2 separate regions of the Homo sapiens genome follow, and region 2 is linked to region 1. Evidence: promoter capture Hi-C in 16 types of primary human blood cells and fetal thymus (Javierre and others, 2016). All regions are on one chromosome and are shown on one strand. The core of a region is centred on a gene start or on the middle of the fragment in contact, and the rest is flanking DNA. Distances in the headings are between cores, read along the strand shown.

Region 1 (4,238 bases), core at 436-2,935:
ACCTTACCGCCCTCCATCCCTCCTTTCTGAGCTTCAGTTTTCCTTGTTTACAAAGTGAGGATCATTAACACTGTCCTTGCAAAGCAGCCGTGGGAGTGGGAGACGGTGTGTACTCAGCATCTGCACAGAAATGTGGTCCATCATGGCAGGCGTGTTTGTCTGGAAGTGCTCAACACACAGGCACTGTCAGGAAAGAGCCGGGTGTTGAGAGAACAAGACATCAGCAGGGAAGAGCAGGGCAGGCAAGGAAGAGCCTGGTCCTTGTCTGCTCCTGGAGACCTGGGCTGCTCTGGCCTCCCGGCTTCTGCCTGGGCATCTGATACCCAGATTTGGTTGTTTGCTTCCGGGTACCGACAAGTTTACATGTTGTTTGTGGAATTCCCCATTTCTGCAGCTGGCCAGAAACTCCCCTTTCCTGGTCTTAAACTCCCCCAAGGGCTACAGACACCAGCTGGGGGTAGCCAGGCAAGATCTGGTCTTCCCTGGACTGATCTAAGCCAGATCAAGTCCCAACCTGCTCACACTCTAGCGCCCCCTCTAGGTCACACTATAGGCATTCCCTTCTTAGACAACTAACTGTCCATTGGCTCCAGCAAGAGCAAGTCTTTGGAGACAGAACCCTCACTCCTCTCCCCAAAACACATGGTCTCCTGAACCACACCCAAGGTTTATGTGTCTCCTGCATTCTAATTTGCTTCTCACCAATGGTTCAGTTTTAATTCAGTCCAATCCACAAAACATCCATTGAAGCCGGGCATGGTGGCTCACACCTGTAATCCCAGCACTTTGGGAGGCCGAGACAGGTGGATCACTTGAGGCCAGGAGTTTAAGACCAGCCTGGCCAACATGGTCAAACCCCATCTCTACTAAAAACACAAAAATTAGCAGGGCGTAGTGGCGGGTGCCTGTAATCCCAGCTATTCGGGAGGCTGCAGTGGGAGAATCGCTTGAACCCGGGAGACAGAGGTTGCAGTGAGCTGAGATAGCTACACTGCACTCCAGCCTGGGTGACAGAACAAGACTCCACCTCAAAAAATAAAATAAAATAAAATAAAATAAATTGAACAACATAACTGTGACAGGCTTACCCGTTGCTTGGAGAAAGAGATGGGAGGCCAGCAGTGGTGGGCCTGAAGCTGCCAGTGCTTAGTGGATCAGGGTTGGGCTTAGGGTGTGAGGCCAGAGAGCTCAGTTCATTTCTTTGCACACAGTAGGGGCTCTGTAAACACCCGTGAAATTAAATCAAATTAGGAGTTTAAGTGACACAAGCTAGCATGTGCACCAACTATTTCCGGAAGGCGATGAGAGACCGGAGAGTGAGATGGCTTTCGGGGTGGGTGTTGGGGGGCTGGGTAGCTGGGGTCGGGGTGGGAGGAAGACCTACTTCTCATTTTATGCCCTTTTGTACCTTTTGAAATGTTTTACTTTCACCACATGCACACAGAGCAGAATCAATCAAACAAACAATCACAATTAAATAAACAATGCAGGGAGCCAGGCTGTCTCAGAGCTCCATGGCTTCATGCCTGCTCTTCCTGCTGGTGAGATACTGTTTCCCAGCTTTCTCCAACTGGGGAAGTACACGTCCTCCAAGAAGTACACAAATGTCCTGTCTTCTGGGGCCTGTTCCTGCCTCCCTGTGATGGTTCTTCTCTGCTTACCCACCTCATCCACACACGAGTGGTCCAATCTCCAACCCTGTCTGTCCTGCTCTGTGGCCTGGAGGCACCTGTGCCTTCTGACATCACAATACATTCAGCCAAGGGGAGGAATCGGCAGAGATAAAAGGGCAGGATGAGGGAGAACTGGGCATGTTTATGCCACCCCCAGCTCCCTCCCTGTTTTGCCTTAATTTTGGCAGTGGCTGAATTTCTCCATGGTCTTAACTCCTGTCTTAGCCTCACTTATATGGCTCCAGCTATCTCTGGGTCAAGTAACACCATTCTCTCTCTCACCTCTTTGGCCTTGGGGTGCTAACAGCTCCCCACTGTTGCCAGTCCCTGCATGCCTCACCTCTGCAAACACTTCCTTCATTAAGTTTGCTTCAGTTAAGCCAGTGGTTCACAATCTGGGGTGACTTTGCCCCCAGGGGACATTCGGTGATGTCTGGAGACACTTTAGGTTGTCATGACTGGTAGAGAAGATGCTACTGGCAGAGGCAACAGATAGTGCTAACCATCCTACTCCGCACAGGACATCCCCCACAACAGAATTAGCCAGCCCCAAATATCAATAGCACGGAGACTTTGGGTCTCCCACTGCTCCCTGCCTGAAGCCCGACAGTTCATGGCTGGGATTCTGGACTCCTGCTGGCCTCTCTGCTTTGTGGTGTGATCTGCCAGTTTCCACACCTGCTGTTGATCTCCTCTTAGTGACACAGAGATGAAAAGACCCCATCCTTGCCCTCAAGCTGGCCATAGTGCAGTGGAGAGAGACCCTGGTGAGCGGGGTTCCCCAGCAGCCTCGAGTCCTTGAGGGCAAAGTCTCTTTGTCAGTCACCACGTAGCCCCAGTAGTAGGAGAGCAGCAGACATTTGCCAATTGAAACAAAAGGTCCTTTAAAAATATCTTAAAACAAGGCCAGGCTCAGTGGCTCACGCCTGTAATCCCAGCATTTTGGGAGGCCAAGGTGGGTGGATCACCTGAGGTCAGGAGTTTGAAACCAGACTGGCCAACATGGTGAAACCCTGTCTCTACTAAAAATACCAAAAAAAAAAAAAATTATCTGGGCATGGTGGTGAGCGCCTGTAATCCCAAGCCACTACTCGGGAGGCTGAGGCAGGGAGAACTGCTTGAATCTGGGAGGTGGAGGTTGCAGTGGGCTGAGATTGCGCCACTGCACTCCAACCTGGGTGACAGAGCAAGACTCTGTCCCCCCCACCCCCCCCAAAAAAAAGTCTTAAAACAGACAGAAGGTTAGGCTCAATGGCTAAACAAGACCCAGGAAACCCTGGTGAGTTTCCCTGTAACAAAAGTTCCAAGGAAACCACAATCAGGCAAAGATGTACCAAATGAATGAATTCTAGTCCCAGGGGTATGGGTGGGTGAGTGGGACAGAAGACAACTATGAGCATCCCGTCTCTAAAATGGTTATAATGGTAGAACCCACCTCCTAAGATTGAATGAGATTAAATTTAATGAAAATCACTTACAGTGTTACCTAGGGCATAGTGAGCACCAGATAAACAGTATCCACCAGCTACCTGGAGGAAATGATGGGGCAGCAGCTTCAAGACGGGTCTAGGGAAGAGCTCTGCCGCTAATATTGGACTGGTTTGCACCCCTGGGCCTCACTTTCCCAATCTGTAACGTGAGGAAAATATAAGCAAGATTAGTGTTTTGCAGAAATTATATCATAGGGATGCTTGAGAGGGGTTCTACAATACGTAGTGCAAATATCATTTTCAACATCAAACCTGTAATTTAATACAAGTAAAAGGTCAGTCTGTTAAACTGGAGGGAAATATTACCATCAGGCAGGGCTAGGGTGACCAACTCATCCTCTTTTGCCCAGGACTTGTCTAGTTTTAGCTCTGAAAGTCCTGTGTCCTGAAACTCTCCCTCAGTCTCAGCGGATTAGGATGGCTGGTGACCCCAGCAGGTCAAATGATCAGCTTGCCCATACTAATTTTAAAGATAATAAATAGCTAGCTGCCCGACACAGTGGCTCACGCCTGTAATCCCAGCACTTAGGGAGGCTGGCTCGGGCAAATCACTTGAGGTCAGGAGTATGAGACCAGCCTGGCCAACATGGCGAAACCCCGTCTCTACTAAAAACACAAAAATTAGCTGGGAGTGGTGGCAGATGCCTGTAATTCTACCTACTTGGGAGGCTGAGGCAGGAGAATCGCTTCAACCCAGCGGGCAGAGGTTGCAGTGAGCCAAGATCGTGCCACTGCACTCCAGCCTGGGCAACAGAGCGAGACTCCATCTCAAAATAAATAAATAAATAAACAAACAATATATGTTGAATACTTATTTTGTGCCAGGCACTGACTTCACAAGTATTAGCTCATTTAATCTTTATAAGAACCCAGCAAGGTAAATATTAACATCTCTCTTTATACAATCGCACAGAAAGGTTCTGTAATTGCCTGAGTTCACACAACTCCTGAGTAGTAAAGCCAGGATTTGATTCCAGGCCATCTGGGTCCAGAGTTGCCATATTTAATTTGACCTGTGCTATATATTTGAATATATTTTTATTTTTTATTTTTTGAGAGGAAGTCTCGGCTCTGT
Region 2 (4,359 bases), core at 965-3,464, 240 kb before region 1:
GAATTCCCAGGGCTTAGCACACTTCCTGGGGATTAGTAGATGCTCAATACAGTTTTGGTGAATTCTCATTTTACCTGCTTTCCATCCCTAATTATATTAAATACCAAAAACTAAAAAGTTACAGTATTTCATTTTATGTAAGCACATCTCCATCATAAAGAGTTAGATGCTTTCCAAGAATGTGACTCATTACTCGGGGAGTACTTGGAAGGTGGGAACCTCTTGTGAATGCTGAAGCCTGTTAACTCACACACCTGACGTGGCCTGAAGTTTTAAGTCATTATACATAGGACTGGCTCACGGTGTGATACATCATGACTTGGAAAGAGATAGAAAAGCTACAAAATGGGATGGATCTGAGTGAACAAAAAGCCAGATCGGTGTCCTATACCAGCAATTCCAAGTCTTTTTAACCATGGGAAAAAAACCTGAATTTGTGTGTGGACTTTATATTGAAGAAATCAACTTTGTATTAATGCACATGGTAATGCCATTTAATTAAAAAGCTGTGGTAGATGTAAAATTCCTCTAACAGTGCTTCTTTCTTGCTACAAGTGTCTTGTACATGCTTTAGTAAGAGAGACTTAATTCCATGAATTTATACTGCAAGAACAATTTATATAGGAAGATAATAGTTTCTCTTAAAAAATAACTTTGGAGAAGCCAAGTCCAAAGTAATAAAGAAAATTATTTGCCTAACCATGTGGCTGCCATCCTACCAGTTGGTAATCTGGAAAATATTCTGTTCTTATGTTTTAAGACTCAAATTAATTTATTTCTTACCTCGATATACTTTTTTAAATGACTTAGGGTAGGCCAGGCGTGGTGGCTCACGCCTGTAATCCCAACACTTTGGGAGGCTGAGGCAGGTGGATCACCTGAAGTCAAGAGTTCGAGACCAGCCTGGCTAACATGGTGAAACCCCATCTCTACTGAAAAATAAATAAATAAATATACAAAAATTAGCTGGGAGTGGTGGGCACACACCTGTAATCCTAGCTACTTGGAGGCTGAGGCATGAGAAGCCCTTGAACCCAGGAGGTGGAGGTTGCAGTGAGCTGAGATCATGCCACGGCACTCCAGCCTGGGCTACAGAGCAAGACCTTGTCTCAAAAAAAAAAATAAAATTAAATTAAAATGACTTTGGGATAGAAGATAGTGATAATGATTATTTGTCTTGATTTACAAGATGTTAGCTCATGTAATCTTCATAACCAATTTGTGAAATGTACTTCTATGATGTCTGTTTTACAGCTGAGGAAACTAGGCTCAGAATAGTTAGATAACTTGTCCAAGGTTACATAGTTTGTAAGTGGTAGAACGGGGATTCCAATCTAGGCAGTCTGACTATAGCACCCTGCTGACCGCTGAGTTACACTGCTTTCCTTAGCCTCCCCACCTTCACCTCCTGTATGTACCCAGCTAGACCAGGGATACCTGCTTTCACCTGGAAAATACCACTGGGTTTGAGGAAATTGGCTGCCCAGGGCCTAGGACTGTTCCAGCCACTCTTTCTTTGCATATATTTGAACCCAGCAGGCATATTTCCCTCTCAGGTCTTTTGTATGTATTTCCCCTCCTGGAGCATTGTTTACTCACAGTTCATCTTGTCATTCAAAGTCTCTGCTCATATCAGCTCCCCAGGGGGGTCTTCCTTGGCTTCCCCAGCACCCCCTTCACTGTGTATCCCTTTACCCTGCTTTATCATAGCACTTGTCACTACCTGACAATGTATAGTTATTTTTTGGTCCCCTCACTAGAATAGAAGCTACCCGAGGACAGGGACTTTGTGTCTTTTTTTTAGTCACTATTTTTTTTAATCAAAGATGCACATTTTCCCACAATTTATTAATAGCGGTTAGAAAATCTGAATGTGTCTTATAATCGCCAGTGTGTCCTGGTTTAATTGGTAGTATTTTTTTCTTTCTTACTTGTTCCTACAGTAAGTGGTGAGTCTTTAAAATGATGGTGTCTTAGAATTGATGAAAATACAGTGTATCCCCAAGGCCTGAACTCTATGTGGCACATAGTTGGCTCTCAATAATTACTTGTTAAAGGAAGGCATTGAGTGTTGTGTGCCAGAAACTATTGAAACCTTTTTTTTTTTTTTGAGATCTCGCTCTGTCACCCAGGCTGGAGTGAAATGGCACAATCTTGGCTCACTGTAACCTCCGCCCCCAGGTTCGACTGATTCTCGTGCCTCAGCCTCCTCAGTAGCTGGGATTACAGGTGAGCACCACCATGCTCTGCTAATTTTTGTATTTTTAGTAGCAATTTATATCATTCCAGCAGACTCTTAGAAAGTAGATGGGGAGGGTGGGGAATGTAAGAGAGACCAGTTAGAAGACACTCGAAATAATCTGAGGGAAGACCAGAATGGGAACCATGGCTGAAGGATGGTGAGACCAGCAGGGCTCGGCAGCCTGCTGAGCAGATGTCTGGCCTGAGCCGTGCCAGTAGGTGGCCCCCTTCACTAAGGAAGGGAATCCAAGAAGACTAGGTTTGGGGAGTGTGAGACGGTTTGGTTTTGAACATAAAAGTTTCAAGTGCAGATGAAAGGAGGAATCAGGTCCCAAAGGCTGCAGCAAGGGACTTATCCTGAGGTTTCTCCTTCTGAGAACTGTAGGAGCTATGGAAAGAAATGACCAAATTTATTTTAGAAAGATGACTGGTTTCAGCGTGAGCCGGCATGGTGATCCAGGCCTGAGATGATGGTGATCGAAGGGGCAGGTGGCCCTAAGTATGGAGAACAAGTGAGCCGATTGGAAAGTTGCGTAGATCAGGCCTTGGGGAGAGATTGACTACGAACAGGATGGGCAGTGAGAGAAAGCTGACAATGATACTTTGCTTTCCAGTTTGAGCAACTGAATGGATATTGGTGCCCATCTCAATTAAACTCTGTTGAACCCAGCTGACAGTGAGCAGAGGAAGAACATTTAAATGGAGAATCATAGTAACAGCTAATACTTTCTTTTATTTCTTTCCTTTTCTTTTCTTTTTTTTGAGACAGAGTCTTGCTCTGTTGCCCAGGCTGGGGTGCAGTGGTGCAATCTTGGCTCACTGCAACCTCTGCTTCCCTAATTCAAGTGATTCTCCTGCCTTAGTCACCCACGTGTGCCACCATGCCTGGCTAATTTTTGTTTGTTTGTTTGTTTGTGGAGACAGCGTTTTGCCATGTTGGCCAGGCTGCTCTCGGACTCCTGGCCTCAAGTGATCTGCCTGCCTCAGCCTCCCAAAGTGCTGGGACTGCAGGCATGAGCTACCATGCCCAGCCTATGAGGGCTAATACTTTCATAGCTCTTCCTATGCATCAGAAGACTCATTTTAATTCTCACCACAATTCTATGAGATTACCATTATCACACTCATCTTCCAGATGAGGAAACTGAAGCAAAGAGAAGTTAAGTAACTCACCAAGGTCACACAGCTAACAAGTGGCAGAGCTAGAATTTGAACCTAGGCAGCTTGGTAGAGTCTGTGCTGTCACTGCCTCTCTGTGCTGATATATCTCTAAATTAGTTCAGTTTGGACAGAGTGAACCTGAGAGATCCGTGGGGCAGCCGCGTGGAGGTGTCTAGCAGGCATGCAGATATATGGTTCTGAAGCTCACATGGGAGGTGGGGACTGGAAATAAAGACTGTGGAGTCTGCATACAGGTGGCCATTGAAGCCACAGGAAAGGTCAGGACCCTTAAGGAGAGGGTGGGAGATAATCAGAGGAAAGAAACAAGGGAGCCCTGGAAGGCAAACACAAGCATTCCAGTTGTGGGAAGGACATAGTCCTTTCTGCAAATGAATACACTGCACCTGGCTTATAGATCTTCAGTCAACAGATAGTCCATCCCGCAGAATTTGTTTGGCTCTGGGTACCCTGACAAAATGGAGTTCCTGGAGCCACAGCCCTAAGGACCTGCCTCAATGGTGGTGATCCTCCCCACTTTCTTCTACCATGAGAGTCCACTGGGGGCCTGTTGGCTTCTCTGGGCATCTGTTTTTTGCCCCTCCCTACAACTGAAGAGCCTCCAGCTCCTCTGTCTACCACCCGTCCACTTCGTCAGCTCAGGTCCCCTCCCTGTCTCTACGACCACAGTAACATTTCACCTGGAGCTTCTTCAGGTCCCTCCTGAACTTATTTTCAGCCCTTTACCCGTACATTTCTTGTATCTCCTGCTAGATTCTAAATTTCTGGAGGGCAAGAAAAACCTATTATGTTGACTTTCCCTCCCTCAACTCCTGCTCCCCTGTGTGTGTTAAATGGCCCGACCCCGTTGTCCCATGGGACTTCGCATGCAGTCCACCAGAATAGGAGCTGTACCTACCACAGGAGCCAGTGAGTCCATCAGTCAGTCAGTCATCTCAG

Evidence for each region. Contacts are between HindIII fragments. The CHiCAGO score rates a contact against its expected background, and 5 or more counts as called.
Region 2: a fragment that was not itself captured here is called in contact with the fragment with the promoter of LINC01430 in region 1 in 2 of 17 cell types (erythroblasts and megakaryocytes); the score reaches 8.1 in erythroblasts.

Annotation. Positions count from the first base shown.
Region 1 is chr20:44,448,872-44,453,109 of GRCh38, forward strand. LINC01430 (long intergenic non-protein coding RNA 1430) reads right to left here and starts at 1,686. Exons shown (of 3, transcript NR_109893.1): 1 at 1,666-1,686; 2 at 1,089-1,219; 3 at 1-183. LINC01620 (long intergenic non-protein coding RNA 1620) reads right to left here. Exons shown (of 3, transcript NR_132343.1): 3 at 3,113-3,302. The HindIII fragment of the contact is 11,098 bases long and covers 1-4,238 here.
Region 2 is chr20:44,212,775-44,217,133 of GRCh38, forward strand. It overlaps OSER1-DT (OSER1 divergent transcript), which reads left to right. Exons shown (of 3, transcript NR_038339.2): 2 at 2,114-2,229. Among named protein-coding and RNA genes, the nearest start is that of OSER1-DT, 4.0 kb to the left of the region's middle. RefSeq lists a silencer at 2,447-2,536. The HindIII fragment of the contact is 6,345 bases long and covers 1-4,359 here.